2 separate regions of the Homo sapiens genome follow, and region 1 is linked to region 2. The links are contacts of gene promoters, found by promoter capture Hi-C in blood cells and fetal thymus (Javierre and others, 2016). All regions are on one chromosome and are shown on one strand. The core of a region is centred on a gene start or on the middle of the fragment in contact, and the rest is flanking DNA. Distances in the headings are between cores, read along the strand shown. Region 1 overlaps INTS8 (integrator complex subunit 8). Region 2 holds the start of RBM12B-DT (RBM12B divergent transcript).

Region 1 (4,016 bases), core at 678-3,177, 1.1 Mb before region 2:
CACCCATGCACATATATGCATACTTACTACAGTTATATATAATTCCCCTTTCTAGGCAAAGATAGACTGCAAAATACCAAAAACATATTTTCAAGTATTACTCTAGCAACTGACTAGCCATTACAATGAGTTTAGAGGTTAAGAGGTGCTCAATAGATTTACTGTAAAAACAAAAAAGCCTGATAATGAAGCTGCCCTGAAGGGCATTAAGGCCTGGTTTTATTGGGGGAAAAAAATAACAATTTTTCTTTTTAAGTCTAAGGTAAATTTTAGTAATGTAAAGAACCTACTTTAGATATGATCTGGTGGCTCACACCGGTAATCCCAGCACTTTGGGAGGCCGAGGCGGGCAGATCACTGGAAGTCGGGAGTTTGAGACCAGCCTGATCAACATGGAGAAACCCCATCTCTACTAAAAATACAAAAATTAGCCAGGCGAGGTGGTGCATGCCTGTAATCCCAGCTACTTGGGAGGCTGAGGCAGGAGAATTGCTTGAACCTGGGAGGCGGAGGTTGTGGTGAGCTGAGATCACGACATTGCACTCTAGTCTGGGCAACAAGAGTGAAACTCCGTCTCAAAAAAGAAAAACATTGTCATGCCAGGAAATGAGTGTTACCACTAATTTGCCCTTCAAAAAACAGGAATTGTCACTCAGCTATGTAAGTAAAAGAACATTTGATAGTTTGCCTAGCACATACAGATGTTTTACAGGAGTTTTGTTTTCAGGTTGTATCATCCACCATGTTGCAAAAATCAGAAGTGTCATCAACAACTTTTAAACGGGTTCTGAAAGATTATGAGATACTACATACCAGTAACACTCCTATATGCAAGTTTCATCAGTGATTTTAAAATGTTACCAAGTATCCTGTAATCCCAGCACTTTGGGAGGCCAAGGTGGGAGGATCCCTTGAGCCCAGGAGTTCCGAGACCAGCCTGGGCAACATAGGGAGACCCTGTCTCTATAAAAAAAAAATTAAAATTTTTTTTTTTTACAAAAAGGGTTACCAAGTATCAATACTTCATTAACTCCTACTCCTGCTGCAAACTCCAGCTCATCAGGCCTTGAATAAATGATTACCTTCAGCTCTGGAAACAGCTAATCTGAAAACGCACCTTCCCAAAACTGTCATAACTATTTTTACCCCTTTCCAGAAAAGGAATTAGTGATAAAAGAAGCCATGCCAACTCATACGAATAAGGAAAGACAATACAGTTTAGAAGGTACAATCTTAGTAGCCCTCTCTAGACAATCACTGAATACTTTAAAATTTCTATTTTACTCAAGGTCCTACTCTGGAAAGTAAGACGCAGAACATATTAAAAAAAAAAGAGAGAGAGAGAGATGTCAAAGAGTTATAATCCAGTAGGGAAAAAGAAGACATAAACACACAAAGTAATATCTGACAACGGCCGGGCGCGGTGGCTCACGCCTGTAATCCCAGCACTTTGGGAGACCGAGGCGGGCGGATCACGAGGTCAGGAGATCTAGACCACGCTGGCCAACACGGTGAAACCCCGTCTCTACTAAAAACACAAAAAATTAGCCGGGTGTGGTGGCAGGCGCCTGTAGTCCCAGCTACTCGGGAGGCTCAGGCAGGAGAATGGCATGAACCCGGGAGGCGGAGTTTGCAGTGAGCTGAGATCATGCCACTGCACTCCAGCCTGGGTGACAGAGCAAGACTCCGTCTCAAAAAAAAAACAAAAACAAAAACAAATAATACCTGACAATAAGCATCAACTGAAAACTGTGAAAGGAACAAGGGGCCCAGAGTTATAGAAAGAGGGCAAACTTAAGATCCCTGAAAAGCTAGACACTCTCTCTTGAGGTCTAGATTTTTCAAAGTCTAGCATAATATTAGTTTTTATCTTCTTTTGGTCTGATCAGATTTCTGATAATATGAAAGAACTGTAAATCAATTACATATAACTGTATTCTCAGTACTTAAACTCTGTCTCCTAAATACAATCCGGAAACTATTTCAGAGACAACAGATGACATAAAATTTCTCTTCCATTTCTTTTAGAAAAATGTCAAATCTTATAAATGTATAAATTAAATACAATGCAGTTTTAATAGCATCTTAAGAGACAAAGGCAGAAATAAATTCTAATTAAAAATAGGAGGATGATCTCATATTAAGATTTTCCAAAAAATTGCCCTACGTAAATTAAGTATCAAATGAATACCTGGCACTGCATTTCTTCGGTTTTGACTTTCAATCCAGCAGTAGAACTCTCAGTTTCTCCATTTACCATGCCTGGTTCCATGGCCAATAAATCTAGAGTTCTCATCGTATGGACATAAAGATCCTTGTTTAATTTTAGGGCTGCTTCTAGTACCAAAATAGAATCAGCAGCTTGTTCTTTGAGCTACAGAAATCAATAAACAAATAAAAATACAAAAATAGCAACTGATTATAATAACCAAAAATATTTACAGTCTATTTAGTAACTCAGTACACTAAGCTATTAAAAAAATTTTTAACACAGCAAGAGTACAATTACATTTGTTGAAATAAAGTTACCTTAAATGAAGGGAAATAAGTTCCTATTGTGAGGTTAGAAAATATGAAAAACAGGAGGGCCAGGCATGGTGGCTCACGCCTATAATCCCAGCACTTTGGGAGGCCGAGGCGGGCAGATCACGAGATCAGGAGTTCGAGACCAGCCTGACCAATAGGGTGAAACCTCATCTCTACTAAAAATACAAAAATTAGCCGGGCATGGGGGCAGACGCCTGTAATCCCAGCTACTCAGGAAGCTGAGGCAGGAGAATTGCTTGAACCTGGGAGGTGGAGGTCGCAGTGAGCCAAGATCGTGCCACTGCACTCCGGCCTGGGTGACAGAGCGAAACTCCATCTCAAAAAAAAAAAAAAAAAGAAAAAGACAATACAAAAAACAGGAAAGACTGGTATCTTTTTTCTGTAGAAAAGTTGATACTTTAGGCCAGGGGCAGTGGCTCACACCCGTAATCCCAACACTTTGGGAGGCCAAGCGAGGCAGGAGGATCATCTGTGGCCAGGGGTTCGAGACCTGCCTGGCCAGCATGGAGAAATCCTGTTTCTACTAAAACTACAAAAATTAGCTGGCCATGGTAGCATACACTTGTAATCCCAGCTACTAGGGAGGCTGAGGCACAAGAATTGCTTGAACCTAGGAGACAGAGGTTGCAGTGAGCTGAGATCATGCCACTGCACTCCAGCCTGGGTGACAGAGTAATATTCTGTCTAAAAAAGAAAAGTTAATGCTTTAAAGATTTAGCTGGTGGCCAGGCACGGTGGCTCACACCTGTAATCCCAGCACTTTAGGAGCCCAAGATGGGCAGATCACGAGGTCAGGAGTTCAAGACCAGCCTGACCAACATGGTGAAACCCCATCTCTACTAAAAATACAAAAATTAGCCAGGCATGGTGGAGCACGCCTATAATCCCAGCTACCTGGGAGACTGAGGCAGAAGAATCGCTTGAACCCGGGAGGCAGAGGTTGCAGTGAGCTGAGATCGCACCATTGCACTCCAGCCTGGGCAACAGAGCAAGACTCCATCTCAAAAAACAAAAAAGATTTAGCTGGACACAGTGACTCATATATGTAATACCAGCACTTTGGGGGTCCGAAGTGGGTGGATCGCTTGAGTCCAGAAGTTCGAGACCAGACTGAACAACATGGCAAAATCCCATCTCTACAAAAAATACAAAAATTAGTCTAGTGTGGTGGCACATGTCTGTAGTCCCAGCTACTGGCAACACTGAGGTGGGAGGATCGCTTGAGGCTGGGAGGTGGAGGCTGCAATGAGCCAAGATCAGGCCACTGCACTGTAGCCTGGGCAACAGAGTCAGACCCTGTCTAAAAAAGAAAAAATTTGCACTGTTCCACTTGATTTATTCAAGAAATATCTGTATACTTCAATGTGCCAGTCATTTTATTAGGAACTAGATAACAACAATGAAATGATGTAGGCTTTGGCTTCCACATTCAAAATATTACAGCATATTTGCTATAGTGAGATACAGAT
Region 2 (4,153 bases), core at 287-2,786:
GAACTCCTGCACTCAGGTGATTCGATCACCTCGGCCTCCCAAAATGCTAGGATTACATGCGTGAGTCACCATGCCCGGCCAATAAACGTTAACTTTTAAGGTCCTGTTCCTGAGACTGCAAGGCCAGGACCAAACTATGGATTATCAAGGTAAATGATATCTAGTCAATGAGCCTACCTCCTCAGAGTGACATCCTCTGCTTCTGTATAGATCACCTTGACATTTCAAACAAGTCACAAATACTTATAATAGTCTCACTTATTTACATATATCTGAGACATACATATTTACTGAATGTTTCCCACAACCCTAAGAGGTAGGTACTAGGAGTATCCCCATTTTACAGATGAAGAAACTGAGGCACAGAGGGGCTAAATAATTTGTCCAGTGAGTAAAAGATGGCTCTGATTTTGTGTTAACTATCTTTTTATTTACTTATTAAACTACCTCTTCTTTCTTATAATCATATCATTAAAGAATGGGTATTTTGCAGTGAGAAAGGGATCCACAACTCACTTTTTCTGTCATCTGTAACAATGTTTTTAAAATGTACTTTCTGCTTAATGAGCTTTGAATCCATCCACAAATACATCAAGTAGCTATACAACGTGGTGGGAAACTTTGTTATTTGCAAATGATAAAACCAAACACAAGGTTGTTCACCAGCTATTACGTAGCAGGCATCACAGAGTACACCTGTAATAGTGCTTTTCCATTACTGAAATTTCAGTACTGGCTCATCTGTTCTCTTGTTTCAAAAATCCAGAAGATGGGAACAAATTTATAAAGACACTTCACAAGGTTATTTATATCTATAAAACCGACTAAGCATGCATTTATTAAGCCCCCAGGTGTTGGGATTGTACTTGGCGAACATCTAAGGCAGTAAAATTACCTTTTCTGTGGTATTCTAGGGTCTACAGGAGCTTTTTTATTTTTGTTTTGAGATGGAGTTTCACTCTTTTGACCTGGCTGGAGTGCAGCGGTGCGATCTCGGCTCACTACAGCCTCCATCTCTCGGGTTCAAGCGATTCTCCTGCCTCAGCCTCCCGAGTAGCTGGGATTACAGGCGCCCGCCACCATGCCAGGCTGACTTTTTTGTATTTTTAGTAGAGACGGGGGTTTCGCTTTTTGGGCGGGCTGGTCTCGAACTACTGACCTCAAGTGATTCGCCCGCTTCGGCCTCCCAAAGTGCTGGGATTACAGACGTGAGCCACCGTGCCCGGCCACAGGAGCTTTTTAGAAGATGTTTTACGCCACACAGTAATGCAACACTGAAAAGACAAGTCGCCTTTTCTCTGCTTTTGCATCTCTTTCCTTAACTTCTGGAAATCTTTAAAGTTTGTCCGCCGTACTTCGACAGTTGTCTACCGAAGATTCTCAGCACATCTACCGGCTGAGCCCTGAATGTGTCTCTGAATTTCTCCCGTTGAAAGTCGAGGTCCCTGGGCTGGGCAGAATCTGGGCATGCGCAGAAGCTCAGCCAACCCCGGGGCTCCGCCTCCCCTCCTCTAGCGAGGGGAAACGGGTGAGCGGCAGCGCGCGTGCGCAAGCTTGGTGGTGGGTTGCGCCTGCAGAGCGCATGGGCAGATAAACCGTACGTCCGTTTGTCCGGACCGGAGGGGCAGTGGGCGCCATCTTCTTCTGGGCTCACTGAGGGTCTACCTGTTTTGGGGAGGCTGCTGCGACGAAGAGTTCCCTCAGCCTCCGGCCTTGTGTGTCCGACTCGGCAGCAGTGGTGTGTGTTTATTGCCAAGTGCGAAGCAGTTCCCCTCGGGGCGCCGGGGGTGGGGAGGGCTGGGCGACCAAGCCGGAAGAACGGGGAAAGGCGGGACCGGCGGCCGCGCCAGTATCTAGCGTAGCTCCTGCCGTTAGGGCACCCTCTTTTCTTGCTAAAACACCGACTCTTCCTTTCCCGTCAGCTTCCATGTGGTGGTGTATGTGCGCTTCCCAGGGATCTTGAGAGTGAAGATCTCGAAGGATTTCATAGGTATATTTTTTTCTTTGCTATGTCATCGTAGTCAGTGGTGGCAGAAAAGCGCTGCAGGCCCAGCTCGTTAGGCTTGAGAAGGGCAAGTGTTTTCAGTTAGATCTGGGGGCAGTTCACCCTCTGGCGAGTTAGGGTGGAATGTTTGCCCTTGAGACGGCGTAACGGAAAGGCACGGAGGTTGGGCGGTCCAGGTTAATTTGAAGGCTGATTTTGGCTGAAAGTCTGGCGACAACATCGGATCCCACGTAGCAACTTTGGCCTGGCGCGAAAGAAGGAAGCTCTGACCCCTGGGAGTTGTGGACAAAGGCTTTGGGCTGTAGAATCGATGCCTTCGGATGATTCCCGTTTGAGGATGTTGGGAGAAATCCTGTGCCATGTGGATTCGTCTTCATTTACAGTTCTTCCTAGGGACTGTGGCTCTCATTGGTCATTCCTTTGGTTTTTATTTTAAACATCTACATTATAAAAGGTGGATCATCGTAAAGAATAATTATGGGTTGGTGTAGATTATTTTCTGCAGGGGAAACTCACGTTTAGAGTGTGAATATGCTACATCATGACCTTGGGCTTTACGAAGTAGTCGCAGAGTTAAAAAAAATTCTCTCCCTCACCATATCTGGAAAATGACTTTTTCTTCGCTAGTTAAAAATCAAATGGATCTGATGAGATATTACTTATTTAAATTCTGTCTCCCTCCCGTTTCCCTCTCTGTATCCCCTTAAGTCTTGATTAGAAGAGGCACGTTACGTATTGTTTAGTTATAATGGTGATTAAGTGGGATGAATCGTTGGATAAAAATAGCAGTTATTTAAAATGCGCTTTAAATTTCACTGACTTAAGTGATCTTTTAGGGACCCACTCTTCTTTTCATAGAAATTTTAACAGATTATTGTCTTCAAATGAACACAAAGGCACAAAAATACTTTTTGCATTCATAACTAGAAAAACGCAAAATTTTAATTGCAGACTACTTGAGGGTAATTTTCGTGTTTTGCTTTTGTGTAATTTAGTGTGTTAAGAGTTGAATTTCTGGAGAATTTGCTTAAGGAAATATAGCATGTTGGAACCACAGAAGTGCCCATTTTGAGAGCTGGTCTCTTACAGTTGGTCTCCAAGGTGTGTTATTGTAGAGGCATAAATGGTACATTACCCTACTGTCTCAAGGGTAGAGAAGTTTAAGCATTAGTTTTGTTTAACTGTGGCAAATGAGAATAAACTTTCTAAATAGTCTGCTTGAATTGGAATTCATGAGATTTGTGCTCATGAAACTACTTGGTTAAAAGATAGTTTTTAAGTGAGGTAGGATAAATTACTAGAGTTTTTTTGAATTTGAGATATAATTATTCCTTGAAACGTCTCTAATTTCTCTTGTAGATGAATTTATGTTCCCAGGGTAAATCCCGTTAAAATTTTTTTAAAAGCTTAGGAGAGACAAGAATATGTATAGCTTATGGTGCTTTCTAAAATATCTTAAAAAGAGTAGCTAAGCCAATTTGCATAGGAGGGAGTCTTGGGACTTTAATATGGATAAAGTAAGTATTCCAGAAGCCATTTGTAGTTTTTGTTGAAGTGTTAGTATGGATATTGGTTTGTTGAAGAAAATAGGCTTTTTTTCTTTTTTTGTTACTGTGCAAATACTTTAATAGCAAACCTGATTAATATTTTTCAGATGTAGAATGTGTGAAGTAATTTGATGTCTTTGCTAGTTTAGCTTCTGGTTAATCTACGTACCCTTTTTTAAAGGAAAACAGACCTCAGTGAATGTATCTTCAGACCCCCACTTTGGGGAACAGTGGTACTTAAGTGTAAGTACTGGATTCTGGATTAACGCAACATTTATTTGTACATTAAAGACATGTAAATTACTCCAGGCGCAGTGGCTCATACCTGTAAATCCTAGCACTGTGGGAGGCTGAGGTGAGCTGATTGCTTGAGCCCATGAGTTCCCTACCAGCCTGGGCAACATGGTGAAACCCTGGCTCTACAAAAAATACAAAAATTAGCCGGGTGTGGTGGTGCACACCTGTAGTCCCAGCTACTGGGGAGGCTGAGGTGGGAGCATTGCCTGAGCCTGGGTAAGTCGAGGCTGTAGTGAGCCAAGATCGCACCAGTGCACTCCAGCCTGGGTAGCAGAGCAAGAGAGACCCTGTCTCCCCCACCAAA

Evidence for each region. The method cuts DNA at HindIII sites, captures the fragments that hold promoters and counts their contacts. A CHiCAGO score of 5 or more calls a contact.
Region 1: a fragment that was not itself captured here is called in contact with the fragment with the promoter of RBM12B-DT in region 2 in 2 of 17 cell types (naive CD4 T cells and total CD4 T cells); the score reaches 6.4 in naive CD4 T cells.

The regions. Positions count from the first base shown.
Region 1 is chr8:94,830,350-94,834,365 of GRCh38, reverse strand. It overlaps INTS8 (integrator complex subunit 8), which reads right to left. Exons shown (of 27, transcript NM_017864.4): 6 at 2,192-2,374. Among named protein-coding and RNA genes, the nearest start is that of INTS8, 9.1 kb to the right of the region's middle. The HindIII fragment of the contact is 5,843 bases long and covers 1-4,016 here.
Region 2 is chr8:93,738,466-93,742,618 of GRCh38, reverse strand. It overlaps RBM12B-DT (RBM12B divergent transcript), which reads right to left and starts at 1,536. Exons shown (of 2, transcript NR_183450.1): 1 at 1,160-1,536. It overlaps RBM12B (RNA binding motif protein 12B), which reads left to right and starts at 1,610. Exons shown (of 4, transcript NM_001377960.1): 1 at 1,610-1,738; 2 at 1,923-1,990. RBM12B-AS1 (RBM12B antisense RNA 1) reads right to left here and starts at 2,508. Exons shown (of 1, transcript NR_027259.1): 1 at 1,800-2,508. RefSeq lists an enhancer at 1,584-1,703. The HindIII fragment of the contact is 3,775 bases long and covers 1-1,555 here.